Regions from separate parts of the Homo sapiens genome. Here all the other regions are linked to region 4. Evidence: promoter capture Hi-C in human tissues and cell types (Jung and others, 2019). All regions are on one chromosome and are shown on one strand. Each heading gives the region's core, a stretch centred on a gene start or on the middle of the fragment in contact. The rest is flanking DNA. Distances are from core to core; before and after follow the strand shown. Region 1 overlaps SEZ6L (seizure related 6 homolog like). Region 2 holds the start of LOC124905096 (a long non-coding RNA gene). Region 3 overlaps SEZ6L (seizure related 6 homolog like). Region 4 holds the start of KIAA1671.

Region 1 (2,700 bases), core at 62-2,561, 1.3 Mb after region 4:
GAAATGACGATTTCTGGGATCCATTCCAGACTTACTAAATCAGAAACTCTCGAGTTATAACCTGGGAATCTGCATTTTAGCCCACTCCTTAGATGATTCTGGTGCATGCTCAGGGAACTGCTGCCATGCCCAGCCTCACAGGAACTTAGAGTGCAGCACTTGGAGGGCCTTTGAGGGTTTCTAGTCCAACTTCCTAACTTTACAGATGGAGCAAGTGAGGCACAGAGAGGTTAAGTGGCTTATGCAAGGTCACACTGCAAGGCAGTGACAGGGCTGAAACACAAACCGAAGACCTCACTGGCCAGCTGCCTTTACTCCATTGCATCACCCACCTTTTTCTCTGGAAGGAGTTATTGCTGCCTCTGCAAGGGGAAGAGGTGACCAGCATTATTGAGCCCTTCTTGTGTTCTAGCCACTTGACATAGGACCTTCTAGCAATCCTAAAGGCTAGGTATTACCATGCCTATCATTCTGGAGAAAAAAAACTGAGGATTGGAGAGAAAGCATCATGTTTGCTGAACAGCAAAATCCTCTGGTGTATAAGACAAATCTCAATATCATAGGGAAAAACCGGGGGGAACGCCCACATACATGTGAAATGATTTGAAAATGGGTTTACATAAAAAAATTTTTTTCATTTATGTAAGCAGGATATATTATATGCTAGAACCCAGTAGGAAATCTCTGGCCCATGACTTGCTGTTGTTAGAATTTTATCCATCACAGTGGTTCTTAACCAGGGGCAATTTTGCCCACCAGGAGATATCTGACAATGTCTGGAGACATTTCTGGGGGTCACACCTGGGGTGTTTGCTACCGGCATCTACTGTGTAGAGTCCAGAGAGGCTGGTTAACATACAATGATGCATGGGACAGCCTCCCACAAAAAAAAAAAAAATTATCTGGCCCCAAATGTCAATAGCGCCTAGGTTGAGAATTCCTGATCTGTAAGATGTGAACTTTTTACTTTTGTTGTGACATCTTTGTGGCCACCTCCACCGTAGGAGTTGTAGCAGCTCACCCCAAACGTGGTAGTCACAGGATTCTTTCCTTAGCTGTTCTGTCTTCCACCCACAAAATGGGTATATCACGGTGGTGTTAGATGTTGTGAGTAGAAGACAGAAAATAGGTTCTATGTGAACCAAGTCTCCTGTCAAAGATAATGCAGCTACCAAGAAATAAAATTAGACTCCAAGTCCAGGTAGGTCTCATTCCAGAATTAATGATATTTCAAGTGTTGTTCTTGCCTCATAGATGAATCCTCCATATACTCCATATATTTTGCAACATAAGCCACTAAATTTCCTTGCATTGAACACAGTCTATTTTTAATTATATTGTAGAGTAAATTGGATTTCACAAGTTTAATTTCAAGCACAAATTGTGGCTCCTCAGCCTCCCCTTCAGTGGTAAGAGGTATTGCTTGGGAGCTAAGAATGTGGATTTATGATCAGCCTGAGTTTGAATCTTGGCCCAGCTGATTTTTAGCTGTGTGTCCCTGAGAAAAAAAAATCCCTTCATTTCTCTGGAACTCAGTTTCCTCCTCCAAAATGTGGAGATAACAATAGAACCCACTTAAAAGGATTATTGTGCATTTTAAATCAAATAATGCATATAAAACACTTTGTATGGTGCCTGGTACATGAAATGCCCTCAATGAATATCAACAGTAATAATTATTATCATCATGGTCATTGTCATCATAATTGTTATTATAATTAAGGCCCCCGGATAGGGAGAAGGTGGTAGATTGGAGAGTTTGGGGAATACTAGGCATTTGTAAAACAAAGCTGGTACAGTCTGGATCTGATAATTCATCACTTACTAAATTTGACCCATCATTTTTGCTTTTAATGAAAATATATTCAATATTGGAACTAATTACTATTAAATTGGCCTCGTTATTAAGCATCAAGGGATCAATGGTGGACTCAGTGGGTTATCGTCATTGAATAAAATGTCTCAAGGAGAAAAAAAAAGTTGAATTAATACACAATCCTGGAGCCAATTGAAAAATCCCTAATAACACCGGCTGTTGCTGACAATTAATTCTAGGAGTCTGTAAATCATGAAAGAGCTTTGGAGGCAGAAACCAAGTTAGAAGAAGAAATGAAGAATTCAACTCATGCTGGCTCTCTCAGAGGTTCTATAACCAAGAGGGAGTTAGGGAGATTTGAGGAAACCTATTACTCCAACGAGGGGTATGGGGCAGAAGGAGACCTGAACTAGGAGTCAGCCTGGCAGGGCCTGGCTCAGCTTCTGTTCTCTATTACTGGGTGCAGGAGTAAAGGGGGAGAGAAATATGAGCTATCAGAGAAGGAGACAGACACAGATCATCTAGTGCCCTTAAGCCCATGGCAAGGAGTTTGGGCTTACTCTATGTGTAATGGGAAGTCTTTGTTGGGATTAGAGCAGGGAGTGGCTTCATAGGATTGTGTAAAACTCACTCTGGCCACTAGACTTCAGAAAGACAAAGTGGGAAACTGGTAGGAAGTTATTGCAGTTGTCTAGATAAGAGTCTACAGAGGTTTGACATAGGATTAGGGTGGTGGCAGTGGTGATGGAGAAGAGCATACAGATACAGGATATGTTTTAGAAGTCAAGCTGGCAGGAAGTGCTAATAGACTGGCTGTGGAGGGTAAAGGAGAAGGTAGGCAATCAAGGATGCTGCCTAGATTAGAGCTTAAATAGTTAGGTAGA
Region 2 (2,700 bases), core at 126-2,625, 1.4 Mb after region 4:
TGTCCAGTGAATATTTGTTGTATTAATTCATCTGTTAATTTATGAAAGAAAATTTCCGAGGAAAGGTTCATGGGGGAATTCTTTTGTGTCGCCACTGCCACCTGCTGGTCATTTTTCTGCACTGCAGGTAATACAGTAGGGATTTGTGTTCTCTGAAGGGAGCCACCAACGTCATCAAGAAAAAGCCTCCCCGACCAGGGGGCGGGAAAGTGAGGCTTCTCCTGTGCGCTTTCCCCAGCACAGCTGAGACCACACTGGGCTGTAATGACCCGGTAACTGTTCTCTGTTCCCCATTCGACTGAGTTTTGGGAGAACAGAAAACGTGATTCTCTAATTCACTGCTTCATACCCAGCTCCTAGCACAGGGATGGAACATTGGAGGAACAGAGTCTACGGGCTGAAAAAAAAACAAAAAACAAAAACAAAAACAAAAAAAACACGGAGAGTGTATTCTGGACTCTGGGAGTTCAAAAGCTATAAAGTGTTGTGCACCGGGCTGCACTTCCCGAGGAGTAGGAGTATTAGATACACTACGGGGATACCCACGCGGCTTTAAACAGTGTCCAGATGAACTTTTTGTGAGTCGTTTGGCTTAAGAAAATTAGAAAAATTAAAACTGACATGTGAAACCTCTGATTATAAGACTATTATTATTTAGAGTGAGGCTAAATTATACTGTGCAATCTAAATAGAAAAACAAGTCAATAGAAATTTTTAAAAATATATTACATAGGCCAGGTGTGGTGGCTCATGCCTGTAATCCCAGCACTTTGGGAGGCTGAGGCGGATGGATCACTTGAGGTCAGGAGTTCGAGACCAGCCTGGCCAAAATGGTGGAACCCCGTCTCTACTAAAAATACAAAAACAAAAAAAATCAGCTAGGCTTGGTGGCGCATGCCTGTGGTCCCAGCTACTCGGGAGGCTGAGGCAGGAAAATCGCTTGAACCCAGGAGGCTGAGGTTGCAGTGAGCTGAGATCACACCACTGCACTCCATCTTGAGTGACAGAGTGAGACTCTGTCTCAAAAAAAAAAAAAAATATATATATATATATATGTATTAAGTGAACAACAGTACAATTGGTATGAAAATATGACAAGAGTTTTAAAAGCCATAAAAATAATCAGTGTATATTGGGTGCTCACTATATGCTGCCCATCTCATGTGCGTGAGCTTGTTTTATTCTCATAACAACACCTTGAGACAGCCCATTTTAAAGATGAGGAAACTGAGGCTCAGAGAGGTCAGTTGTGCTCACAGACATACAACTAGGATGTGCATCCTGAGCCCTTGGACACTTGAACCCAAGCGCTCCTGCTCTGCAATTTGCCTTTAAATGAAATGATGTGAGGTCTTTCAAGAAATATTTACTGGGCACCTACCCTGTACCAGGTTGCCAAGGATGCAGCAGTGAGCTCAGCTGGGTTGAGGACCAAAGACTTCCTCAGGATATTTTCAGAGGAATCATTAGAATATGATTGGCACTGGGTTCTGTTCATTATACCATCTATGCTTATTGTAAAGTAATGCAGACCCACCCTGCATTAAAAAAAAATACATCAAAGCACAGGCTTTAAAAATAAAAATAAAATTCTCCCTTCCTACAGTCCATCCCCAAGGCACGCTCTGCAGGGTGAATGATTCCTTGCCAGCCCTCTTAGGTCTCATCCATAAACACATAATAGAGTGCTGCCTTGGAGGGAGCCCCATGATTGACTTAAGCAAGGCTTTGTGATTTGATTCTGGGCTCAAACACAGAAGCGTTGGCTGCATATCCATCCTGCTCTGGAATGCCAGGGGGCAAACTTCAAGTATACAGATGACCTTCAATTAGTGGAAGGATTAGCCTTGGCCAAGTGTCAGCTGAACCACTTACTGCCTCATCTCTGGGAGTCTTGTGGAAAGGGAGCTACATTCAAAATCTCTGCCTCTCTCGCTCAACTATTCCAACAGCCCCTTCCCTTGGCTACTTTAGGGGTCTTCTGCAGCCACCCAGGGTCTTCTGAGTTTCTCTCTTCTATGGCACCTGCCATTTTTAATTAAATTGTCCATTTACACATTTGCTTGGCCCCTTAGAGCATGCAGACCATGAGCTCTAGAGGACAGGAATGATGTCTGATTCACCTCCTCACCGCATTGCTGGACGCATTGCTGGGCATGAAGTAAGCACTCAAGATATATTTTCTGAATAAATGCATGGGTGCCCGCCAGAGCTATCTATGGTGTCATCCAAGATGCAACTCCAGCTGCACAGTGACCTGGGAAGTCTCTTCCCACAGGCTGACTTCTGGGCTAGATTTCAAGGGTGGGAAGGAAACAGTTCATAACTCCCAGGGAAGACTGCTATTGAAGTATAAAGGAAAACCCTTCAACCTCAAGAGTGAAGCCAGATTCCTACCCGTCCACCCACTGGAGGAGATCAAAGTCCCGATTCTTCATGTATGGTGATTACTGTGACTAAAACATACTCATCAATTGATTCATTCATCTTTTCATTGGAAAAGTGATACATTTAAATGCCTACAAGGCCAGGCAAGTACCACGTGAAAGACAATAGGGAGTGGCAGAGACTGGGGCTAAAGTAAAGAATATTCCTGGTCTAACAGGGAAAGCCATTACTCAACTCCAGCCAGTCATTGCCATGTAACAATGTGAACCCAGTATTGCCCAATCTTCTAATGTTTCAGAAGAATCCAGAAAT
Region 3 (2,700 bases), core at 155-2,654, 1.4 Mb after region 4:
TGGCTTTTCGTGGCTGGCTTCTTTCACTGCATGTCATGTTTCCGAGGTTCACCTGTGCTGCGGCGTGGGCCAGTGCTGCATTCCTTTTTATGGCTGAATAATAACTCCGCTGCACAAATAGACCGTATTTTGCTTATTCATTGATCTGTTGAGGGAGCAGATCTGATTTACCTTCTGGAAAGATTCATCTGGCTGCTAAGGGGAGGAGTATCAGGGCCAGGTGAGGATGAAGTCAGGAAACCACCGAGGTGCTGTCCAACTGCCCAAGAGAAAGGTGATGATGGTCTGAGGATAGCCTGCGACAGTGACCAAGAAGAAAGAGGTGGATGTAGAGGGGGAGATGGGAGCTGAGATCTTCTGCCAGGAGCTCACACTTTGTGCCTGTGGAAAGCCTTTCACTCTGGCACCTGAGAAGGGCCAGAGTGGGCAGGGTCTGGTCTTGGGAAGCTTTGTGGTCCTACAGGATCCTCCCAGAAGGGATCCTGCCACTCCCAGTCACAGTCAGACCAAGCCTGCCTGCCTGCCAGCATCTCTCCATCTCCCCTTCATCCTGGAGTCAAACTGCCATCCCGTTTTCCTAGCGCCTCCTTGGATCGTATCTAGCTGACATCTCAATTCAGACCTCAGCGGAAAACCACACTCTGCCCTGTGGCTCTCCCTGCAGTGAACTCAACACATTTTCATCTCGGTTGCTTACAAAGGTCCGATTCCAGGGATGCTAGATGCACTTGGTAAATACATGGATGAGCAAGTGAAAATGTAAGCTCCTCTTTGCATTGAGGGGAAAAAACTAAATTGCCAAACTCTGTGTACATAATTGGAACCAGTCTGTCAAAAAAGATTCAGAAGAATGAGGCAGAGAGTAACTTGATTATTTCTCCCAGTGACCCTTCAGGCACATCCTATATTATTTTTTTCCTCTGGGTGAAAGCTGCGTTTTCATAGGTCTTCTGGTCACAATAAGTGCAGTCCAGTCTGAAAATCTTATAACCCTAAGTATCATTCATTTTGAAACTTCATCCCTCCCTCAACTGTGCTCCTCTGGCTGGGAATTTTGCAAAGGGCATGGGAGGTAAGGGAATAGGAGACTCTAACTTGGCTACACTGTTATGTTATAGAATATATAGAATGCTGATTTTTTTTCTGTCTTTAATAGGATATTAAATGTGTGAAAGTCTCCTGAGCACAGCTGCTCTTAACTTTCCCTTTTGCTGGGGTTCTATCACCCTTTCAGTAGGAAGCCACTTTTAAGGAGACCTATAGTTGGCTTCTGCCTGCAAGGTTCACAACTAGACCCAGGAAACATAGATCATATCCCTACTGTCATCAGTGATGGGATGCTCACTGTCAATATCTGCTTTTATTCTCCTTGCTCTGACCAGAGGCAGGCAGGCATCCCCAGTCTGATTTTATCATTTCTTTTGGTGAGCATCAAATCCAGCTACTGTTATCCAAGCCACAAAAGAAAGACACCTGCCAAGTCACCAAGAGTTCCCTTGAAGCCCTCCTCACTAGGCTTAATGTGAGGGTGATACACATTCGACCCTCCCTCCTATGATGCCCCACAGTGACCACTCCCCTCAAGGCAGTCCTTCCTGCCAGCCTCCTCAATGGCCAGTGCCTTCTTTTCCTTCTCTTATATAAGCTAGAGGTGGGAAGAAGGGCTCAGACTGGAATAGCTGCATCGATGTTAGTAGATGATGCCATTGGTACTCTGTCTAAGCCGTGCAATACTTGCCACCATGTGCCCATAATGACTTCCTACTGCAAGGCCCTTCCCACTTCTCCAGCATTTCTCTGATGCCATGTGGTCACATGGGCAAGCCAGAAGTTCTAGGGACTCAACACATCCAGGAGCATCCCTCAGTCAATAAAGGATGGAAACTGGAGGATAAATACCCCAGCTCCTTCTCCCTATGGATGTGTTCTGCACCATCTCTAAAATTCCTGCAGGACTGAACCCAAAATGCACAGTGAAACCTGCTCATCAATCCCCTCTTCGTTGAGTCCTTCCCTTCTTCTTGTCTCATTTCCCCACCAGTGCTGCCTAGGATGGCCTCCCAGACAAGCCAGACTTCAAAAGGCATTTGTATGTTTGCTTGATCTCTGCATCTGGAGAATCCAAATGCAATCAACAGCCAAGTATCTCTCTTTGGAAAGTGGAAATCCACTGCACCTATTGTCTTGTTCTTAGCTTAGGGAGACACTGCTAAAATTTCAGAACAACAGAAGAAATTGCATTTAATGGTCTGTTGCACACCGTTTACAATGTGCATTTATATAAGTCATGGTTTCTCGAGTTTAGCCCTGTTGACATTTTGGACTAGATACTTTTTTGGGTTGAGGGGCTGTCTTGTGCACTGTAGTATGTTTAACAGCATCCCTGGCCTCCACTCACCCATGGTACCCACCTAGTTAGGAAAAATATGTTTCCAGACATTGCCAAATGTCACCTGTGAGGAAAACTGCCCCTAGTTGAAAACCACTGACATAAATCATCTGATGTCATTTGGCATAAACAGAAATCCAAAGAAGGATGATGGTGGTGATGATGATGATGACGATAGTGATGATGGTGATGGTAACGATGATGATGCCAAAAATGAAAGTGGAATATAACAACATAACATTCAAATGACATCACCGAGCTTGCCCAGGTGCTAATGCTGAAGCTGGAATTTGAATCCAGACCTTCTGCCT
Region 4 (2,772 bases), core at 123-2,622:
TGGTGATGATCAGACCTTCAAAAGGGTTGCAGTGCAAACGGTGTGGAGAACAGGAGCTACCCTTGTTTCTTACACACACCCAACAATTTAAGAGCAAAATGAGGCAAGAAGTCTCCCCACCAATCCTCCTGAAGCCACACAATGTGATGTCTTTTTCTTTTTTTTTTTTTTGAGATGGAGTCTTGCTCTGTCGTCCAGGCTGGAGTGCAGTGGCGCGCTCTTGGCTCACTGCAATCTCCACCTCCCGGGTTCAAGCCATTCTCCTGCCTTAGCCTCCCGAGTAGCTGGGATCACAGGCATCCGCCACCACGCCCAGCTAATTTTTGTAATTTTTAGTAGTGACGAGGTTTCACCACGTTGGCCAGGCTGGTCTCAAACTCATGACCTCAGGTGATCCACCCGCCTCGGCCTCCCAAAATGCTGGGATTACAAGCCACCGTGCGCAGCCTGTGATGTCCTTTTCTTTCTCTTTTTTTATTGAGGTCTATCTTGCTTATAATAAAGGCACATTGATTTTAGGTCCTCCAGTTATTCATGCTCTGTACATTTCCCATAGGAGCACATGTCACAGATTCAATTTGATATACTCGTGAAATTATTTGTTTGAATATCTGTAAGCTGCACAACAGCCTGGATTTTGCCAGCTGCCCACCACTGGGTTCTCCAGCACCCAGCATGCAATAGGTGCTTAATAAAGATCTGCTGAATGAAATGAGTAACGGATAACAGAACAGGTATTTTCTCTTTCAGAGGCGACTTCCTACGATTCTCTCAACTTGTCCACAAGTTCCTGTACCCATTACCCCACAACTCACACCCACAACATAATGGCAGGAGGATGCGCACACAGTAGGCGCTCCAGCGAACTCTCAGGTGCAGTGCCCTTGCTTGGCGCGAGGAGGCGCCAGCACCGCGCACAGACCTTGCCCGCCCCCGGGCCGGCACCAGCAGCCCAGGCAAGTCAGTGGGCCCACATTTATGGAGCGCCTCCTGAAATCCTGGGTTGCATTAGGCTCTCGGGGTCGCCGGCTGGGCAGCGGGTCGGTGCCGGTGGCGGGGGATCCTGGCTGGTGACTGGGGAACATCCAGGGAACGCGGGAGGGTACCCGGAGCAAAGTTCCCAATTGGACAGAGCGGGGTCGGGCCTCGAGGGGCGGGAGCGCTTCCGGCAGGGGTGTCCAAGCGAGTCGTGACCTCTGACCCGCCGGAGAGGTCCCAGGCCCAGGCGCCACTGCGGACTCGGGTCCTGCCTGCTCTGCTCCCCTCCGCGCAGGCGCGGCCGGCGGCAGTTCCCATGGTGACGGGGGCGCGTCCCCGCTCGAGGCCCCGCCCCCAGCAGGCTAGGCTGCGCGGGGCTGCGGGCTCCCAGGGCAGGTGCCGCGGGCTGCGGGCAGGTGGCGGCGCGGCGCGGGCTGGCGGTGGCTCCACGGTAGGTTGCGCAGCGGCTGCGGGCAGTGGGGGCCGGCTGGCCGCCTCCTGTCCCCGGCCGACGAGGTAGCTGGGGGTGACGGCGGCTGGCGAGGGCCGCCAAGTTTCTGCCCGGCCGAGGCCCCGGGAGAAAAGTTGGCAAAGTTGGCCGGGGAAGAGGCGGGGAGCCGGAGGATTTCCCCAGACTCCGGGTCTGCAGGGAGGGAGGATCCCGGTTTGGGAGCCGGGGAATCCGTCTCCCGAGACTTGAGAGTGGATCCCGCGGGAAGATCCCGCACAGGGCAACCAATGGATCACGTGCCACCTGGTTGGCGACTTGGGAGTCGATCCCTGGAGGGGATCGGGCGCTGGAGGCCTGGGGTCCCACTGGATCCCCAGTCAGGGGTGACGGCGAAGGGTGATTCGAGACTGGGAGCGAGAGGATCAATCTCCTCCCATGCCAGCCTGAGCCTTGGGAATGGATTCAGAGAGATCCCGTGGCTAGGAGCTGAGGGATCGCTGGAGATCTGGGTTACTCAGCCTGGAGCTGCTAGGGTCTGGACATTTGTGCGGGTTGGAGGCCCCGGAGGTGGAAGTGGGAAGCAAGGGCGGCGAGCGAGACGGAACCCTGGTCGAGGGGAGCCCGGAGGACAGCGCGGTGGTTCGGGGGGCGTGAGAGGGGCGGCGCGCGGGGCCCCTCGGACGCGGAGGCTCCGGACACGTCCTCTCGGCCTGGCCTGCGCCCCCCCTCCGCTCGTCTTCCCAGGGCGGAGGCGCCCTGATGGGATTAAGCCTCAGTCCCCCTGTTACCAGGCAGGCCCGCGTGGTCCCCGCCCCGATGGCGGCGCGGCCCACCCGGGCTCACGGGTGGGGCCCTCGGGATGGGAAGCGGCTCGTTGACCCCCACCCGAGCCTGACCTTTTCACACCCTGCTGGCACAAACTCGCCTGGGAGTGGGGACGCCGCGCCTTAAAACCCTGCTGTTTGTCCAGTCCCGGAGCAGGCGTGTGACCTCCACCGCGCGACGCCTAGGTGGCTAGGGCTTCCTGCCTGCCGGGACTGAACTTTCTCTAGCCAGGAGCAGCCATTATCTTTTGGAAGGGAAAGGACTGTACCTGTTGCACAAAGAAAAACACTTTCTTTGCACCTTTTTTGTGACCTTGGGCAAAACACTTAACCTATCTGAATCCAGATGGGGACCCTCTGGGCAAAATGGGCTTGGCCTAGGATGGATCGGAATGAAGGGTATGAAACAGGTAGGGGCTCTATAAGTATCAGTGCCTCCCTCAGTCTATGGCCTCTCCTTTCCCGTGCCCCATCCCCTGTGCTTGCCTTACAGTATCTAAAGATTCCAGAAACCCTACT

Evidence for each region. The method cuts DNA at HindIII sites, captures the fragments that hold promoters and counts their contacts. A contact is called where the count stands out against the background at its distance.
Region 1: a fragment that was not itself captured here is called in contact with the fragment with the promoter of KIAA1671 in region 4 in 1 of the 25 tissues and cell types used here (dorsolateral prefrontal cortex).
Region 2: a contact is called between a fragment that was not itself captured here and the fragment with the promoter of KIAA1671 in region 4, in 1 of the 25 tissues and cell types used here (mesenchymal stem cells).
Region 3: a contact is called between a fragment that was not itself captured here and the fragment with the promoter of KIAA1671 in region 4, in 1 of the 25 tissues and cell types used here (lymphoblastoid cells).

Annotation. Positions count from the first base shown.
Region 1 is chr22:26,222,103-26,224,802 of GRCh38, forward strand. The region is part of intron 1 of SEZ6L (seizure related 6 homolog like); the gene reads left to right. Among named protein-coding and RNA genes, the nearest start is that of SEZ6L-AS1, 23 kb to the right of the region's middle. The HindIII fragment of the contact is 8,757 bases long and covers 1-2,700 here.
Region 2 is chr22:26,360,484-26,363,183 of GRCh38, forward strand. The region is part of intron 12 of SEZ6L (seizure related 6 homolog like); the gene reads left to right. LOC124905096 (a long non-coding RNA gene) reads right to left here and starts at 542. Exons shown (of 3, transcript XR_007068038.1): 1 at 1-542. The HindIII fragment of the contact is 5,861 bases long and covers 1-2,700 here.
Region 3 is chr22:26,334,383-26,337,082 of GRCh38, forward strand. All of the region lies in intron 9 of SEZ6L (seizure related 6 homolog like), which reads left to right. Among named protein-coding and RNA genes, the nearest start is that of SEZ6L-AS1, 89 kb to the left of the region's middle. The HindIII fragment of the contact is 3,866 bases long and covers 1-2,700 here.
Region 4 is chr22:24,951,344-24,954,115 of GRCh38, forward strand. It overlaps KIAA1671, which reads left to right and starts at 1,373. Exons shown (of 13, transcript NM_001145206.2): 1 at 1,373-1,429. RefSeq lists a silencer at 1,190-1,439. The HindIII fragment of the contact is 5,810 bases long and covers 1-2,772 here.